Linked DNA regions of Homo sapiens: region 2 is linked to region 1. The links are contacts of gene promoters, found by promoter capture Hi-C in blood cells and fetal thymus (Javierre and others, 2016). All regions are on one chromosome and are shown on one strand. The core of a region is centred on a gene start or on the middle of the fragment in contact, and the rest is flanking DNA. Distances in the headings are between cores, read along the strand shown. Region 1 holds the start of PRKCG (protein kinase C gamma). Region 2 overlaps VSTM1 (V-set and transmembrane domain containing 1).

The links. The method cuts DNA at HindIII sites, captures the fragments that hold promoters and counts their contacts. A CHiCAGO score of 5 or more calls a contact.
Region 2: a contact is called between a fragment that was not itself captured here and the fragment with the promoter of PRKCG in region 1, in 1 of 17 cell types (monocytes). The highest score is 5.3, in monocytes.

Annotation. Positions count from the first base shown.
Region 1 is chr19:53,879,034-53,883,772 of GRCh38, reverse strand. It overlaps PRKCG (protein kinase C gamma), which reads right to left and starts at 1,576. Exons shown (of 18, transcript NM_002739.5): 1 at 1,109-1,576; 2 at 579-610. The coding sequence starts at 1,278. RefSeq lists an enhancer at 573-1,124. The HindIII fragment of the contact is 17,886 bases long and covers 1-4,739 here.
Region 2 is chr19:54,043,613-54,048,351 of GRCh38, reverse strand. The region is part of intron 4 of VSTM1 (V-set and transmembrane domain containing 1); the gene reads left to right. Among named protein-coding and RNA genes, the nearest start is that of VSTM1, 18 kb to the left of the region's middle. The HindIII fragment of the contact is 7,023 bases long and covers 1-4,739 here.

The sequences.
Region 1 (4,739 bases), core at 327-2,826:
CAGACGCAGCCCAGGAAGCAGCAACTTGGGCAGAAGTGAGTCTGGGGGCGCTGCTGCCGGCCCGCCCCCCACCCTGACTCACTCTGTTCTCAGCAGTAGCAGCTGGTGCTCAAGGACTCGCCCCCCTCTCCCGCCCCCCAGAACTGCCGGCCCCGCCCGGCCCCCACTCGCCCATTGGTGACCCCACCCGGCCTGCCCCTGCCTAGGACGGCTGGTGTTGTCATGGCGACGGCAGCCTGGGGTGGGGGGGGGCTCTGACTTTGCATCTCCAGCCCCCTCCCCCTTCCCCCCTTCAGCTCCCCTTTTCCAAATCTCCATGTTCCCATGGCAACAGATTCTCCAAATATCTGTCCCCACCTGGAGCCGGCCGAGGGAGGGGCCCCCAGCACCACCTCCGCGGTGGCCCCACCATCAAAGCTCCCTCCCCACCACAGGCTGTGTCTCTGCCACACCCCCCGCCCCGGGCTCCCCCGCGCCTCTCTGGGGACCAGAGAACACGTGTGTCAAGCAGCCTCAGCTGTGGGGCCCCAGCCTCCACCCTCCTGAGGGTCCCAGGAGCCCCGGTCCCCAGCTCTTACCTTGACATTGCAGGCCCTGCTTTCCGATACCCCTGGAAGAGTCAGGGATCCTAGGTCAGTGCAGAAAGGGGTACCTGGACCCCCAACCTCTGCGAGCCACAGGGGGCCTGCGCTCTCTGACCCTCCTCCCGCAGGGCCCAGGTGTCCAAGCCCCGGCCACCTCCTCTTTCTAGAACCCAGAAATTTTGGCCCCCAGCCCTTCTTCCCTTAGACTGGAGTTCAGCCCCCAGTTTCTTCCTCCTTCAGACCCAGGAATCCAGGCTCCCAGCCCCCCAGGCCCTTCCTCCCTCAGACCCAAGACTCCAGGACCTCTGTCCTCCAGCCTCCTCCTCCCTCGGACCCAGCACTCCAGGAACCAGCCTCCTCCTCACTGAAACCCAGGAGTCGAAGCTCCCAGCGTTCCCTGGCCATCCTAGAACCTGGGAGTCGGGACTACAGCCCCCTCCTTCTTCCTTCCACAGGGGTCGGCGTGATAGGAGTCTGCACCCCTAGTCCCCTCGTCCCCCAGTCCCCCAGCCCCCTTCCCTCACCAGATGAAGTCGGTGCAGTGGCTGCAGAAGGTGGGCTGCTTGAAGAAGCGAGCGGTGAACTTGTGGCTCTTGACTTCGTGGACCACCTTCTGCCTCAGGGCCCCCTTTCTGCAAAACAGGGGCCGGGGTCCCCCCTCTGAATCGCCTACGCCGGGGCCCAGACCAGCCATGGCCCCAGAAACGTAGCAGGGACCAGGATCCTGCCTTTCTTGGGGGAAACAGGTGGAAGGGAGAGGAGCTGGAGACTCGAAGGATCAAAGGAGCCACAGGGAAATTCCGAGGTGGGCAGGAGAGGGGCAAGGCACCTCCAGGTGCGGAGCGCGCCAGGCAGGGAGCGGCACCCCGGGCGCGCCGGCTCCGCCAGGGGGAGCGGGCGAGTGGGGAGGAAGAGCCAAAGGCAGGGGCGCCGGCAGCCGGAGGCACGGGCGGCGGCGGTGGGAGCTCCAGCTCCGGCACCTGCTGAAATGTGGGAGCCCCGGGTTGGGGGAGGCGTTGCCAGGACGACCGAGAGGGCGGGGTTTCGGCTTAAAGGCGCTCCCCTCCCGGAGACACGGGACAAATGTCCTCCCTCCCCGCCCCCCACACGTGCACACACCCACTCCGGGGGCTGGCTGGAGGGAGGGGCATCCTCTGAGCCTGGCTCCCCCCCACCACCCTGCAATCTGTCATCCTGCCCCGCGTTCCTCCCCCACTAGGGTGCCTCGTGTGTCCTGTGGGCGCCCTGGGGTCCCTGTGTCTGACCCTGCCCCTCTCCTTCCTTCAACAAACTTTATGCTCCACGCTAGGGGTCCAGCAGTGGACAGGCAGGGCGCTAAGGTTCTCACTTTCTCCGATGCCGGCTGAGTCTTTATTTCCTCCCCTGGCCTCTCCATTATTTGTGTAGCTCTCTGCCTGCGTGTGTCTTTCTTGTGACCTCTGTCCCTCTCCCTCTATTCCTGGAGCGAGCTTTCTCGATGTGTCTCTGTTTCTGCCTCTCAGTGGATCTGTTTTCTTTTCCCTGTCTCCGAGAAATGCTGTTTCTATTTCTTTCTATTTCTCTATTTCCTCTGCTGTGTGTCTCCATCTGTATCTGTCGCCATCTCTGGGTCTTGGTGTCGTGGTTCTTCTCGGGGTCTTGGTCTGCCTCACTGTGAATCAGTCTCCCTCTGTCTCTCCCTCTACGTCTGATAAATTCTTCCGCCTCTGTCTCCCTGAGTTTGTTTCTTTCCCTGTCTTTGTCTCTCTGGCTCTGTGAATCTCTATTCTCTCTCAGGCTGTGACTCTGTCTCCCCCTCCCTCTGCAACTTGATCTCTTTGGGAGTCCGTCTCTGTCTTCCTCTCTGGGAGTCACTCTCTAAATGCTTGCCCCTGTCTCTCCCTCTCTCTCCTCACCTCCACCCGTCTTTATAAATGCCTTTGTCTCTGTCTCTCTCCCTTCCTCCGGTTCTGCAACTCCGTCTCTGTTTTTGTTTGTCTCTTCCTATATCTCTCTGGTTCCATCTGTTTCTCTGTACTTGTCCCTCTCTGGCTCTGTTGATCTCTCTCTCTCTCTCTGATGCTAGGGGGGTCTCTCTCCTGTCTATGACTCAGTCTCTCTCTCCCTCTTCTCTTCTCTGTCTCTGTCCCTTTCTCTCTGACCCAATCTCTCTCCCTCTTCTCTTCTCTGTCTCTGTCTCTGTCCCTTTCTCTCTGACCCAATCTCTATTTGTCTCTCTGGCTCTATGAATCTCTTTCTGTTTCTGGGGATCTCCCCGTCCCTCTGTGTCTGTGATTCACTCTCCCTGTGTCTCTGGCTCTCTGAATCTATTCATCTCTCTGACTCTCTGAATCTGTGTCTCTGGCTCTATGAATGTCTATGTCTCTCTGACTCTGAATCTGTGTCTCCGGCTCTATGAATGTCTCTCTATGTCTCTCTGACTCCCTGAATCTGTGTCTCTGGCTCTATAAATCTATGTCTCTCTGACTCTGAATCTCTCTGTGTCTCCGGCTCTATGAATGTCTCTCTATGTCTCTCTGACTCTGAATCTCTCTGTGTCTCTGGCTCTATGAATCTCTATGTTTCTCTGACTCTGAATCTCTCTGTGTCTCTGGCTCTATGAATGTCTTTCTATGTCTCTCTGACTCTCTGAATCTCTGTGTCTCTGGCTCTATGAATCTCTATGTCTCTATGAATCTCTGTGTCTCTGGCTCTATGAATCTCTTTCTATGTCTCTCTGACTCTCCGAATCCCTCTGTGTCTCTGGCTCTATGAATCTCTCTGTTTGTCTCTTTGGCTCTGTGAATCTCTGTGATTCAGGCTCTCTGAATCTCTCTATATGTCTATGAATCTCTCTGTGTCTCTGGCTCTATGAATGTCTCTCTATGTCTCTCTGACTCTCTGAATCTCTGTGTCTCTGGCTCTATGAATCTTTCTATGTCTCTCTGACTCTCCGAATCTGTGTCTCTGGCTCTATGAATCTCTCTGTTTGTCTCGTTGGCTCTGTGAATCTCTGTGATTCAGGCTCTCTGAATCTCTCTATATGTCTCTATGAATCTCTCTGTGTCTCTGGCTCTCTGAATCTCTGTCTCTGGCTCTAGGAATCTCTGTCGAGGGTCTCTAGATAGAGACTTCCCTCTCTGTGTCTCTGTGATTCAGTCTCTCTCCCTCTTCCCTTTTCTGTGTCTCTCTCTCTGTCCCCTTCTCTGACCCACTCCATGTGTCTATCTGGCCCTGTGAGTCTCTCTCCATCTCTGAGGTCTCTCCCTCTCTCCCTGTGTCTCTGTGATTCAGTCTCTCTCCCTCCTGTCTTTTCTATGTCTCTGTCCTCTGTCCTCTTCTCTGACCCACTCTACGTGTCTCTCTGGCCCTGTGAATCTCTCTGTCTTTGAGGTCTCTCCCTCCCTCTAAGTGTCTCTGTGATTCAATCCCTGTCTCCCTCTCTCTAGATCTCGCTGGCTTCGGCATCCTCTCTGTGCGCCCCCTCTCAGGAAAGGGGTCTCTCCAAGGGCCGGCGCGGTCAGTCTCTTCCGGCCTCCACACCTCTTGGTCGCTCTACCCGCGTCCCCGCCTCTCTCTGGTCGGGCTCTGCGCCTCCCCGGCTCGGGAGCGCTTCCCAGTCCCCGCTCCCGGGAGACCCTCTCTGTTGCCAGGGGCAACCACGGCCCGCCCCGGGCTGCGGGCGCAGTGCATTCTGGGACTGGTAGTCCGAGCCTGCGGACCAGCCACTCTCGGGACACGACCGAGAACTCCGCCTCCCGGCGTGCCCCGCGAGGCTGGGCGGGACGCTGCGGCGGCGCCTGGGAGGGACTCTGGACGCCCAGCTTACCTTCTCTGGGACTTTTCAGGGGTTCGGGGCGGGTTTCCTGGGATTCCCAAAGCCGAAGGGAAGGTGGGGGAATCCGAGTCCTCTTGTAACCACTCTCCCTAAATGTGGAGTCCACTGGCCTTCCAGCCACCTCCAGGTGACCTAGGGCGAAGGATAGGCGGCGGGGATGGCCCCGAAACCGACCTAGGAATCCCACCACGTTCTAGTCCAGTGTCCTTGAGTTCTTTCCCGAGTTAACCAACGTATCACCCCAGAGTTCTATAGCTGTTCTTTCGGATGCCTTCCAGAAGGGATTCAGGCATGGGATGGGAGAGAAGGGTGGGCGAGGCGTCCTTTAAGAAGACAGC
Region 2 (4,739 bases), core at 1,051-3,550, 160 kb before region 1:
TTGAGCCCAGGGGTTCAAGACCAGCCTGGACAACTTGGTAAGATCCCATCTCTACAAAAAATACAAAAATTAGCCAGGCGTGGTGGTGTGCACCTGTAGTCCCAGCTACTTGGGAGGCTCAGGCAGAAAGATCGTTTGCGCCCAGGAGGTTGAGGCTTCAGTGAACTGTGATTGCGCCACAGCACTCCAGCCTGGGTGACAGAGCGAGACCCTGTTTCAGTAAATAAATAAAATAAAAGTAAAATATCTGTAAGCACAGGTATGATGTCCCCAGCCTGTATTTATATGCCTAAAACACACTAGAAAACGACTCTATGTTCAATCGCAATGTAGAGAATGAAGATGAATTTTATCACACAAGACTTGACTTTCTTTCTGGTGCCTGTGCCTCCATTTATGCCCCGTGTCAGGCTGTATCTTGTTGCTCACGCTGACTTTAGTAGCGTAGCAAGTTATGATTTATTCTGGCAATTTGCAAATACTGATGCAACATTTGGCCAGGATCTGTGGACATCTCAGGGTGAACCCAGTTCAGCTGATTATGGGGTCATATGAAGATGAGAATTTTGCAATAATGTACTTCTCATTTCTAGTGAATTGCTGTGTGAAAGATACCGTAGGCTGGAAAAGGGGAGAACAGAAAGGACAAGGCAAGGCTGCTGTTTCTCTGCTTCCATCTGGGGAAACTGAGAGTCCAGGAGCAGCTGTTCCTGCCCTGTTTTCATAAGTCCTTGGAGATGCACTGATAGAATTGTTGCTTATGGCCAGGCATGGTGGCTTATGTAATCCCAGCACTTTGGGAGGCCAAAGTGGGCAGAACACTTGAGCTCTGGAGTTTGAGACCAGCCTAACCAACATGGTGAAACCTCATCTCTACTAGAAATATAAAAAATTAGCGGGGTGAGGTGGCGGGTGCTTGTAATCCCAGCTCCTTGGGAGGCTGAGGCAGGAGAATTGCTTGAACCCCAGAGGGGGAGGTTCCAAAGCCGAGATTGTACCACTGCACTCCAGCCTGGGAGACAGAGTGAGACTGTCTCAAAAAAAAAAAAATTGTTGCTTTTGAGGGGTTCTCTGATTCAGCTCCACCAGAAGCAGGCTCTTAGACAGCATTAGTGTGAAAGTGACGTTTTATTTTATTTATTATTTATTTAGTTTTGAGACAGAGTTTCGCTCTTGTTGCCCAGGCTGGAGTGCAATGGCGTGATCTTGGCTCACTGCAACCTCCGCCTACCAGGTTCAAGAGATTCTCCTGCCTCAGCCTCCCAAATAGCTGGGATTACAGGCATGCACCACCACACCCAGCTAATATTCTATTTTTAGTAGAGACGGGGTTTCTCCATGTTGGTCAGGCTGGTCTCGAACTCCTGACCTCAGGTGCTCTGCCTGCCTCGACCTCCCAAAGTGCTGGGATTACAGGTGTGAGCCACCACGCCTGGCTTGAAAATTACATTTTAGGGAGTGGGGAAGAAGGGCTGGGAGGAAAATAGATTAAACAAGTGTGGGATATCTGTGTCCCTCAGATGGTATCTTTGGCTCCATCCTGCAGAAAGCAGTGGAGACAGAGAAGGTCGAAGACCAGAGGCTAGGGAGCTGGGGTCCCCACAGCCGTCAGTGGCAGTTTGTCCCGGGCATGTAAATTCCAAGGCATTTGGAGTTCTCCCAGGCAGTCCCCCAAAGAAGAGATACAAATGTTCACTTTGGAAAGGGAAAGAAGCCACGATCTAGAATGCATAAAAATGGGAAAGGGATCTGGGGAACATGGGTTGAGGAACATTGACAGAATCTATTACAGAGAGAGATGGGTGTAGGTGGAATATTGGGTGAAAAAAAATCATCATTATACCTACAATCCCATTATCCGACACAATGAGTCAGTTTCTAGACTGAGCGCTTTAAAGCCAGGATTTTTCATCATTACCTAACTCTTCAAGTTAGATATTATTAGCTCTCTGCCCCCTCCTTATATTTAACCAAAAAATAACGTATTCCAGAAAGGGAAGGGAACATTTACAAAGTCAGGAGGTAGGAGACCCAGTACTAGAACTCAAATATGTCTTGTTTCAAACTCCCCACTCCTTTTGCTGCTCCCTGATGATCAGCTCAGAAAGAACCTTATTTCAGGGAGGGGGATAGATAGATAATTAGATGTGATAGATAATAGGCAAGTAGGCAGATAAATAGATAACTAGATATGATAGATTAGATAGATACATAGATGATAGGTAGATAAGTAGCTAGATACGATGGACAGATTAGATAGATAGACAGATGATAGGTAAGTAGGTAGATAGATAACTAGATACAACAGGTTAGATAAGTAAGTAGATAGATAACTAGATATGATAGATTAGATAGATAAATAGACGATAGGTAAGTAGGTAGATAGATACAGATAGATTAGCTAGCTAGCTAGATGATAGATAACTAGATATAATAGATAAGATAGATGATTAGATAGACAGATAATTAGATATGATTGATAGATACATTAGATAGATGATAGATTAGATAGATAGATGATAGGTAACTAGGTAGCTAGATAAAGCTAGCTAGATAGATAGATAGATATACAGATACACAGATAGATACATAGATACCTAGATAGGTGATAGAGTTGCAAGATAGAAAAATTAGATAAGTAGGTGGATAGATAGATAGATAACTAGATAGAATAGATTAAATAGATAATAGTAGGTGAATAGACAGATACATACAGATGATAGATGATAGATGATAGATAACTGGTTATGATTGATAGATACATTAGATAGATGATAGATTTGGTAACTAGATGATAGGTAAGTCGGTAGATAGATAAGTGATAATTAGATATGATAGGATGGATAGATTAGACAGACAGCAGGTAAGCAGGTGGATAGACAGATAAAGATAGATACATAGATGCCTAGATAAGTGATAGATTAACAAGATAGAAAAATTAGACAGACAGATAGTTAATTACATATGATAGGATAGATAGATTGGATAGGTGATAGGCAAGTAGGTAGATAGATAAATCATAATTAGATAGGACGGATAGATTGGATAGATGATAGGTAAGTAGGTACAGAGACAGATAAAGATAGATAGGTAGATAGATAATAGATACCTAGACAGATGGTAGATAGATTAGCGAGATAGATAAATTAGATAGGTAATTCTCTATATATAGATATGTAGAAATGCCAATGCAAACATAGCGAACCAAGTAGGGGAAGCGTCTGGATGGGAGACCCTCTGTTGGTGCAGAGGACCAGGCGTGTGAAGCATCTCAGACTTGGCTCTGTAATGTGACCACAGATCATTGCACACCTAGGAAAAATTCTCAGACTCAAAGCACACTAACAAAGATAGCGGGGGTCTTGGTGAAGCCCCTTTCTGGGGCCTCACTTCTATAGTTGCTCAACTTTTTTCCTTAATCACGTTTCTGCTACTTACTCCTTAAAGTCTCACGACTTGTGTTTCTTGAATCTAAAGTGCCAAGAAAAACAAAAAACGGGGGGGAACTGCATGGACTCTGTCGCCTAGCTTTAGTAACAGGTTGCTCTCTCTTCCTCAACGCTGTGAGCTTTGGACACAACCCTTGCTGTAATCCCAGGAGTCACACGGGAATGCATGCCCTTCACCAGTGGGAGGGAAATAATTGTACTACCTTGCAGGGTTGTTGTTAAGACTTTAAAACGCTATGATGTAGACTTGCATGGCAATATTGCTCAAGAACTAGTTTTTTTTGTTTTGTTTTGTTTTTGTTTTTTAATTGGTAGAAATTTTATCTCCTGAGAGGGATGCTTTTTTGAGTTGGAGTCTTGGTCAGTTGAGTGTATGATGCAGTGATGCGATCTCGGCTCACTGCAACCTCCGCCTCCCAGGTTCAAGCAATTCTCTTCTCTCAGCCTCCTGAGTAGCTGGGACTACAGGCGTGCGCCACCATGCCCAGCTTATTTTTTATATTTTCAGTAGAGACAGGGTTTCACCATGTTGGCCAGGCTGGTCTCGAACTCCAGACCTCAAGTGATCCACCTACTTCACTCTCCCAAAGTGCCAGGATTACAGGCGTGAGCCACCGTGCCCGGCCACTGGTCATTCTTTTCTACCCTGCTCTAACCCTGTTCTTATTAGGAATCCTCCCTGAATTCTCCCAGCTGATCCCTTGTTCTGTGTCTTGGGGAATCATGTCTCCTTCAGAGAGCCCCACCCCTCCCCACTCTAAACGCCTTCCATGCCCGTGTCACTGCTGTTCATTACCTGGCATCAACGAGCTCATTGAAGTGTGTTTGAAGTTGGCTGGGCGTGGTGGTCTGTACTCCCAGCTACCCTGGAGGCCGAGTGAGGAGGACCACTTGAGCCCAGGAATTCGAGTATGATCACACCACTGCACTCTAGCCTGGGCAACAATGGGAACCCATTGGCACATCTGGGATTGGCATCCTGAGCTCCCATCTGTGACCTCCCTCCTCTCCCCTCCTCTCCCCTCCATTGCCCTCACCCTCTCCCCATAATCTTCACATCCCGTCCTTTCACATCTCTCTCTCTCCTTTAAAAAAAGAAAAAGGAAATATGTTTGAAGTTAAGAGCTGAGATCATGTCTGTGTTAGCCAGGGTTTTCCAGAAAAACAGAACCAATAGAACATATAGATATAAGCTGGGTGTGGTGGCTCACGCCTGTAATCCCAGCACTTTGGGAGGCCGAGGCAGGCAGATTGCCTGAGGTCAGTAGTTCAAGACCAGCGTGGCCAACA